Regions from separate parts of the Homo sapiens genome. Here regions 1 and 2 are each linked to region 3. Evidence: promoter capture Hi-C in human tissues and cell types (Jung and others, 2019). All regions are on one chromosome and are shown on one strand. The core of a region is centred on a gene start or on the middle of the fragment in contact, and the rest is flanking DNA. Distances in the headings are between cores, read along the strand shown.

What was found. Contacts are between HindIII fragments. The study calls those that stand out against the background at their distance.
Region 1: a contact is called between a fragment that was not itself captured here and the fragment with the promoter of NDUFS5 in region 3, in 1 of the 25 tissues and cell types used here (adrenal gland).
Region 2: a contact is called between a fragment that was not itself captured here and the fragment with the promoter of NDUFS5 in region 3, in 1 of the 25 tissues and cell types used here (pancreas).

The regions. Positions count from the first base shown.
Region 1 is chr1:38,853,290-38,855,989 of GRCh38, forward strand. It overlaps RRAGC (Ras related GTP binding C), which reads right to left. Exons shown (of 7, transcript NM_022157.4): 3 at 2,419-2,618. Among named protein-coding and RNA genes, the nearest start is that of RRAGC, 5.1 kb to the right of the region's middle. The HindIII fragment of the contact is 4,658 bases long and covers 1-2,700 here.
Region 2 is chr1:39,261,445-39,264,144 of GRCh38, forward strand. The region is part of intron 6 of MACF1 (microtubule actin crosslinking factor 1); the gene reads left to right. Among named protein-coding and RNA genes, the nearest start is that of MACF1, 58 kb to the left of the region's middle. The HindIII fragment of the contact is 3,503 bases long and covers 1-2,700 here.
Region 3 is chr1:39,024,995-39,027,694 of GRCh38, forward strand. NDUFS5 (NADH:ubiquinone oxidoreductase subunit S5) reads left to right here and starts at 1,356. Exons shown (of 3, transcript NM_004552.3): 1 at 1,356-1,408. RefSeq lists enhancers at 1,188-1,437, 1,297-1,883, 1,884-2,469. The HindIII fragment of the contact is 8,915 bases long and covers 1-2,700 here.

The DNA of each region.
Region 1 (2,700 bases), core at 49-2,548, 170 kb before region 3:
ATAAAACACGTATTTGAGAGGGAAGCCTTTAACAATTTAAACACTGTCAACAATTCTATCTGCTTTATAACTCAGGGAGTACAATCTTCATTATATAGTCGCATCCACCACACATTTATACGTATATATAACATCAGAGACACAGAACTTTATAGGTAATTTAAAGATACTTTCAGCTGGGCGCGATGGCTCACGCCTGTAATCCCAGCACTTTGGGAGGCCAAGGCAGGTGGACCACTTGAGGTCGGGAGTTCGAGATCAGCCGGACCAACATGGAGAAACCCCATGTCTACTAAAAATACAAAAAATTAGCCAGGCGTGGTGGCGCATGCCTGTAATCCCAGCTACTTGGGAGGCTCAGGCAGGAGAATCGCTTGAACCAGGGAGGCAGAGGTTGCGGTGAGCCGAGATGGCATCATTGCACTCCAGCCTGGGCAACAAGAGTGAAACTCCATCTCAAAAAAAAAAAAAAAAATACTTTCAAGGAGCTGACCTAAGAACCTAATCTAGCAAGACAGGGGTCTAATCTAGATGTAAGAGCACTGGAACAGGTAAGGCCAAGATGACCCCATAGATACTAGGGAGAAAGGAATATTTTAGTGTTTCCTGTAGGCCAAAAGGTGAGCAAAGAAAGAATGTCCCGCACCTTTGAGGCTTGAGGTAAATGGGGACAGGGAGAACCTGCAAGTCACAGGGCATTTTAGTAAACTGAGTTTCTAGAAACTGGAAATGAAAAGGAGCTTCATCCATAGGACTGCTAGTACTAAATAAAAGTCTTTTTTTTTTTTTTTTTTTTGAGACGGAGTCTTGCTCTGTCACCCAGGCTGGAGTCCAGTGGCACGATCTTGGCTCACTGCAACCTCCACCTCCTGGGTTCAAGCGATTCTCCTCTCTCAGCCTCCCAAGTAGCTGGGACTACAGGCACACACCACAATGCCCGGCTAATTTTTTGTATTTTTAGTAGAGACGGAGTTTCGCCATGTTGGCCAGGCTGGTCTCAAACTCCTGGCCTCAAGTGATCTGCCTGCCTCGGCCTCCCAAAGTGCTGGGATTATAGGCATAAGCCACTATGCCTGGCCTAAATAAAAGCTTGATGCAACATTCTACTGAAGTTAACAAGGTCTAGGACCCTACATGGTACTGAGGAAAGGGATGGCATGTACCACTAGGGTGGGATGCCCTGGAAAGGAACACAGACACGGAGTAAAGAGAATCAGAAGGATCCCCATGGAGCACTGGGGAACACAGGACAAGAACGGCTCAAAATCCAGGTAAAAAACTATTAGCAGTGGATTCCCAAAAAAATAAGACTGAATTTTTGTGGAGAGCCACTTACATTTTCTCCTACAAACATTGCTGAATTTTTATTTTTTTAACATGAATTATTTTCAAATTATTTAGAAATTTAATCCAGGCAAACTAGAGGTCAATGAGACTTTTCGACATGGTTTCCTAGAAGAATAACTGAAAGATCTTGGAGCCTGAGACCCAGAGAATTTTAGGGGGAGGGATAGCAGTTAGCTTGAGCCCATAAAGAAGTCACAACAATAGAACGGGGACAGAGAAATAACTTGCTGTCTCTCTCCCCTTCTCCCTCTTTAAGCTACTTCTATCGTCAAGAGAATATTTTCTTGGGTACTTTTTAATACTCATTTCTACCTATATCACCAAATAAAATAAGATGTACAAAAATATTCCTCATACACTTTTAGAATGCAAATACACAAATCAATCCTATCAAGTAGGTATTATTTAATAATAATTTCTTAACAGTAGTTACAAACCAATAGTCCTCTAAATTTAATAGCAGCCTTATGCACATTTATAAGATAAACCCACCTAAGCCAAACTTTATAGAGTTTCATAAAAGTATAAAGTGTTTTAAAAGCTAAGATATATTACAGTCAGTCCAGGGGGGAGGTGGAAGGGAGCCAGCAGGAAAAATAAAAATGAAAAATAAAAAGAGTCAGTCCAGATTTGAAAGTGCACTCTCTGTATAAGGCTGTTCCTACTGAGAAAGATACTGTCTAAGACTCAAGCTAAAGACTTCCACAACAAATGTGACAGATTCACTTCACTGATGCAAGGCGGGGAAAAGTAATGAAACCAAGAGGAAGGAGTCCCAAAGCAGATTTATGCCATGAAGAAACAGCCTGACTCCAGTCTCTTGAGATGAATTTGGAAAAGCACCAGTGGAAACACTTCACATGACTTCAATCTCCAGGAAAACGCAAAAAGTGGGTAATTTCTCAATATCAGGCTCCCCAGACAGCCTGGAATTCAACAACAAGATCAAAAACATAAAAGATGTGGCAAAGGGCACACAGGTAGCAGAAAGCTATGGTGTTTGTAATGACAGAGATGGGAATACATTTACACCTTGTTCAGGGCTTTCATATCAAACACACATGTTGTTACCTAAGATGGAGTTTTTCTAGCCCAGCATCTGCAAGGTCATCATTGGCCCTTTGATGAATGTCCCTCTGTGTTTCTATTTTGTGATCATCAGACAGACCATCAACTTTGTGAATAAAAACCTCAAAATTCATGTCTGGGTTAACTTTGTAGGCTTTAGAAACAGTAATGTGAAGTCTTGTTAAAGCCTCCATGTAGTCATCCTGTAAGTCAGAACAAAATATTTTTTAAAATAAATCTTACAAAAGCCAAGTAATGAGTTAAAGCCTCAAACCACCTCTTTCC
Region 2 (2,700 bases), core at 33-2,532, 240 kb after region 3:
TTCATTTACAGTTACTGCACATTTTCATCACCAGCCTCAGGCAGCCACTAATTTATTTTCTATCTTGATAGATTTGCTTATTCTGGACATTTCATATAAATGGAATCCTATGATAGATGGTCTTTTGTATCTGGCTTTTTTCACTTAACATAATATTTTTTGGTTCATCCATGTTGTGGCACATATCAGTACGTCATTCTTTTTTATTGCTGAATATTCTGTTGTATGGATATATCATGTATTTTGTTTAAATATTAAGCCAGTTGATAGACATTTGAGTGGTTTTCACTTTTTCACTGTTATAAATAAAGTTATTTGCATACCAGTCTGTGTGGGTTTATGTTTTCATTTCTCTTGTGTATACATGTATATACCTAGGAATGGGATTTCTTAATTGTACAGTAAGCATGTTTAGCTTTTAAAGAAACTGCCAAATTGTCTTGCAAAATGGTGTATCATTTTACATTCCTACCAGCAATGTATGTGGTTTCCTGTGTCTTTACATCCTCACCAGTATTTATTGTCTGTTTTAGATTATAGCTATCACAGTGAGTGTGAAATTGTATCTCTTTGTGGTTTTAGTTTGCAGGAAAATGTATTATTTAATTGAATTCCACAAACATTGACTGGGAATGTTATGAGCAAGGTCTTAGATAGAGTGTATGGAAGATACACGGCTGAGTGCAATGGCTCACACCTGTAATCCCAGCACTTCGGGAGGCCTAGGTGGGCAGATCACTTGAGGTCAGGAGTTCAAGACCAGCCTGGCTAACATGGTAAAACCCCATCTCTACTAAAAATACAAAAATTAGCCAGGTGTGTTGGCGCACTGTAGTCCCACCTACTTGGGAGGCTGCAAAGCATGAGAATCACTTGAACCCGGGAGGTGGAGGCTGCAGTGAGCTGAAATTGTGCCACTGCACTCCAGCCTGGGCTACACGAGACTCCATCACAAAAAAAAAAAAAAAAAAAAAAGAATCTACTACAGAAGATACAAAATTGAACTAGATACAGACCATCTAGTTGGACTCTTATTGTTTAGGAGAGTGAGAACAGACATACCATAAAATAACTTGACAGAGGTTTAGAGAATGAGAGAGGTATGGGTTAGGATGATGGAACACAGTATGAACTCAACAGTGGGCAGCAGTTACTAGTAACAACTTATTATAATTATTAATTGACCTTATAACTTCCAGGGCTTTTGACACAGCCCACTGTTCTTTTTCCTGTTACCAATTTTACAGAAAGGTAATAGCAGCTTTGGCCTAGTCTGTCTTCTGCATGCATATTGGCTGCCTGCTTTTCTCTGTTATTTCAGCACAGCCAAATGCCTATTTATTTGTCTTCTTGTAGGTGGGAGCACCGCTCCCAGAATATTTTCTCAGTTTTAACTATGGATTCCTTTTCTTTGCCGTTCTGAGGGCTTGGTATTTGCCTATACTAGCTAAGTGTTCTGGTGTGTGGGGAAAGGTTCTCTGCTTGTGAAGCTTTTGATTGACTACTGAAGGATCATGTGGAGTGCCCCCCCACCCCCCGCCTCGTCTTGCATCAGATTTGGCATGGTATGTCTTTTGCTAGTTATCTGTCATTGTGGTTTTCTAGTCTTTCATTATTGAGTATCTATTAGCTGTTCTCACCAAGAACATATGCTATGTAAAGCCAAATGGAAATGCAGAGTAGAACTGTTACATGTTAGGGAATCAGCAAAATTGTTATTATGGTCAGTCTGTGTTATTGGTGTTAATGAAGTAGAATAATGATGTACCTGTAGACATGGATGGTAGTTTTCACCTCAAGGGAATATTCAGTTGAAGGAGAAGGGAGAGGCTGGATCCAGATTAAAGATTTGTGACTGCTGATGAGGCTGGTAATATTGATAACTTCATGCAGAGGTTTATGGTTTCTAAAATGCTTTAACACATTTTTTTTAATGTGCTAAATGGTAGATGTTCTTTTTAATTTTAATTTGAGTTTTTAGTTTTGAAAATCTCAAATACTCGGAAGAGTATATAACAGATCCTTATGTGTGTAGTTGCCTTCAGAATTTAACAGGTGTTCCTTTTGTTATATTTGCTTCAGGGTTTTTTCTCTCTCTTCCTCTTTAAAGTAATAAAACATCTCAGATACATCCAACTTTCTTTGCCCTCTCTGCTCCCCAGGTAAATATTATCCTAAAGTTGATGTGTATCATTCCCATACATGCTTTTGTACATTTACAGCAGATGATCTATTCATAAACAATATGTACTGTTGCTTGTATGTCTTTATATTTGACACACATAGTATCTTTGGTATATCCTTTCTTTCATCTTTTTTCTTTTTTCTTTTTTTTTTTTTTTTTTTTGAGACGGAGTCTCACTCTGTCACCCAGGCTGGAGTGCAGTGGCGCGATTTCAGCTCACTGCAAGCTCCACCTCCCAGGTTCATGCCATTCTTCTGCCTCAGCCTCCCGAGTAGCTGGGGCTACAGGCGCCCGCCACCACACCCGGCTAATTTTTTGTATTTTTAGTAGAGATGGGGTTTCACCGTGTTAGCCAGGATGGTCTTGATCTTCTGACCTCATGATCCGCCCACCTCAGCCTCCCAAAGTACTGGGATTACAGGCATGAGCCACTGTGCCCAGCATGATTTGTTCATTTTAACTAATTTAATGTAAGTGGTGACCCCTGCAGCTGTGTAACACATCTATTATTTGTA
Region 3 (2,700 bases), core at 106-2,605:
TATAATATCTCATGCACCCTGTGGTCCACCCCCCAAAGACATACACACAACACTTTAGAGTCTCTGATGTAGTCAAAGGGAGTCATTGGAGGTTCTGGAACAGATGACAGGCATGGTAGCAGTTGATTCACAAACTGAAAGCTGAGACATCAAAGAACTGCGACTGCCTTGGAATGTTTCCCATGTGCTAGCCACCGCCTCAGTGCTTTATACATAAATCAGTTAATCCCTATAGCAAGCCTCCATTGTGAATACCATAATTATCTTAACAGACGAGGAGACTGAGGCACAATGAAGTTAAGAAACTTTCCTAGAGTCACACGAAATTGGTGGGGGCCTACTTTTTTTTTTTTTTTTTTTTTTTTTTTTTTTTTTTTTTGAGACTGAATCTAGCTCTGTCGCCAGGCTGGAGTCCAGTGGCGCGATCTCACCTCACTGCAACCTCCGCCTCCCGGATTCAAGCGATTCTCCTGCCTCGGCCTCCCCCCACTAGCTGGGATTACAGGCACTCGCTGCCACACCCAGCTAATTTTTGTATTTTTAGTAGAGACAGGGTTTCACCATATTGGCCAGGATGGTCTCGATCTCCTGAGCTTGTGATCCGCCCACCTCGGCCTCCCATAGTGCTGGGATTACAGGCCTGAGCCACTGCGCCCGGCTGGGGGCCTACATTTGACCCCACGTGGTGGTTTGGGCTCATAGTCCATGTGCTTAACCACTAGTGGGTAGGCAGGGAGCCAGTGTTCTTTCTCTCCTGTGACTTTGGTGAAGTCTCTCACCACTCAGTGTTGTCGTGAGCATGCTAGGCAGAGTGCAAGAAAGGAGCAAGAACTCACTAATGGCTAGGCCTTCCCTGTGTCTCTGTAATTGATGGGTTTGGGTTTTTTTTCCTTTCTCTCTCTCTACCTCCTCTCTCTCTTCTTCATCCTCTCTCTCTCACTCTCCCCCTGAGATAAGGTCTTGCTCTGTTGCCAGGGCTGGAATGCAATGGAATGGTGTGATCATGGCTCACTACAGCCTCAATCTCCTGGGCTCAAGGGATCCTCCCACCTCAACCTCCTGAGTAGCTGGAACCACAGGCATGCACCACCTCGCCCGGCTAATTTTTTATTTTTTGTAGAGAGGGGAGTTTCGCCATGTTGCCCAGGCTGTTTTCGAACTCCTGGGCTGAAGTGATCTTCCTCCCTCAGCCTTCCAAGGTGCTGGGATTGCAGACGTCAGCCACCGTACCAGGCCAACGGGCTCGGTTTCTATGGTTTTGTGGGGAGACGGCTGAGGGAAGGTCGGCTTCCGGCGTCGCGCTGCAAACGTCTCGCTGAGGTCATCCTTTACGGCAGGCGTCCGCGTCGCTAGCTAGTCGTTCTGAAGCGGCGGCCAGAGAAGAGTCAAGGGCACGAGCATCGGGTAGGTAGGGGCTGCTTATGTCCGCGCGGCAGCTTAGCTTAAGGACCTTCCTTCCGAGGTCTCTTTAACAGATTTCCTCTTGGCTTGCTGTGTGTCCCCTTCTCCCAGACCTGAACTCAGGGCGTGTTCCCTGCCCTCCCAGGCCGCTTCACCTCCACAGCTAATGGCACCGAAGCCTGGAGATTGCCGCTCTCTCCACTTTCCACATTTGTTTAGGTTTTTGCCGGACTAATGTTTTGGCTTTCTGTTTCTTAACCTAAAGTCTACGATCCTTATCCCAGCTTTCCAGGCTCTGCGTGATTTCGGCCCCGCCGGCCTCCTGAGCTCATTTCATTCTTTTCACCGTCATGCACGCTGCGCTCCATTGTCCCCCAAACATAGCCAGCACTTCCGGCTGTAACTCCGGGCTGTTGCCCAACTGGAACACTCTGCCCACTGATCTTCACTTGGCGAACTCGCAAGCCATGTTAAAGGCATTTTCAAGTCTCCGGGCAGAGTTCGTGCTTCCTCCTTCGAGCTCTTACCCACTCGTGTTCCTTGCAGTGTATTCGCAATTCCGAGTGTGTGTCTCTGGTGCTTACGTTGGAGCTGCTTTCCCCCGCATCTGAGTGCCTGGAACGTAACTACTCAGTAAATGATGACTGAGGGATGGGAAGGAACTTAAGAAGTTAAATTCACCTTTTTGTTGAGATGGAGTTTCGCTCTTGTTGCCCAGGCTGGAGTGCAGAGTGGCGCGATCTCGGCTCACTGCAGCCTCTGCCTCCCGGATTCAAGCGATTCTCCTCCCTGAGACTCCCGAGTAGCTGGGATTACAGGCATGCGCCCCCACGCCCGGCTAATTTTGTATTTTTTTAGTAGAGAGAGGGTTTCGCCATGTTGGTCAGGCTGGTCTTGAACTCGCGGCCTCAGGTGATCCGCCCGCCTCGGCCTCCCAAGGTGCTGGAATTACAGGCGTGAGCCACTGCGCCCAACTAAATTCACCTTTAAATCTACCATGAGTACACATTTATATTGATATTTGTGGGTGTGCGCGCGCTTCCTTTCAGTCATTTTAGGCAGTCAGGGTTTGTTTTTGTGTGTGTGTTTTTACATTTAACATTATTATGTATTTGCATGTAAATTTTTTTCCCTACTGTCTGTAATAGTCTACAAAGTAAGTCTTAACCCATTTCTTTCGCTCTGGTTTTTTTTTTTTTTTGAGACAGGATCTCGCTTTGTTGCCCAGGATGGAGTGCAGTGGCCAGGTCATAGCTCACTGAAGCCTTGAACTCCTGGCCTCAGTCTCCTGCCTCAGCC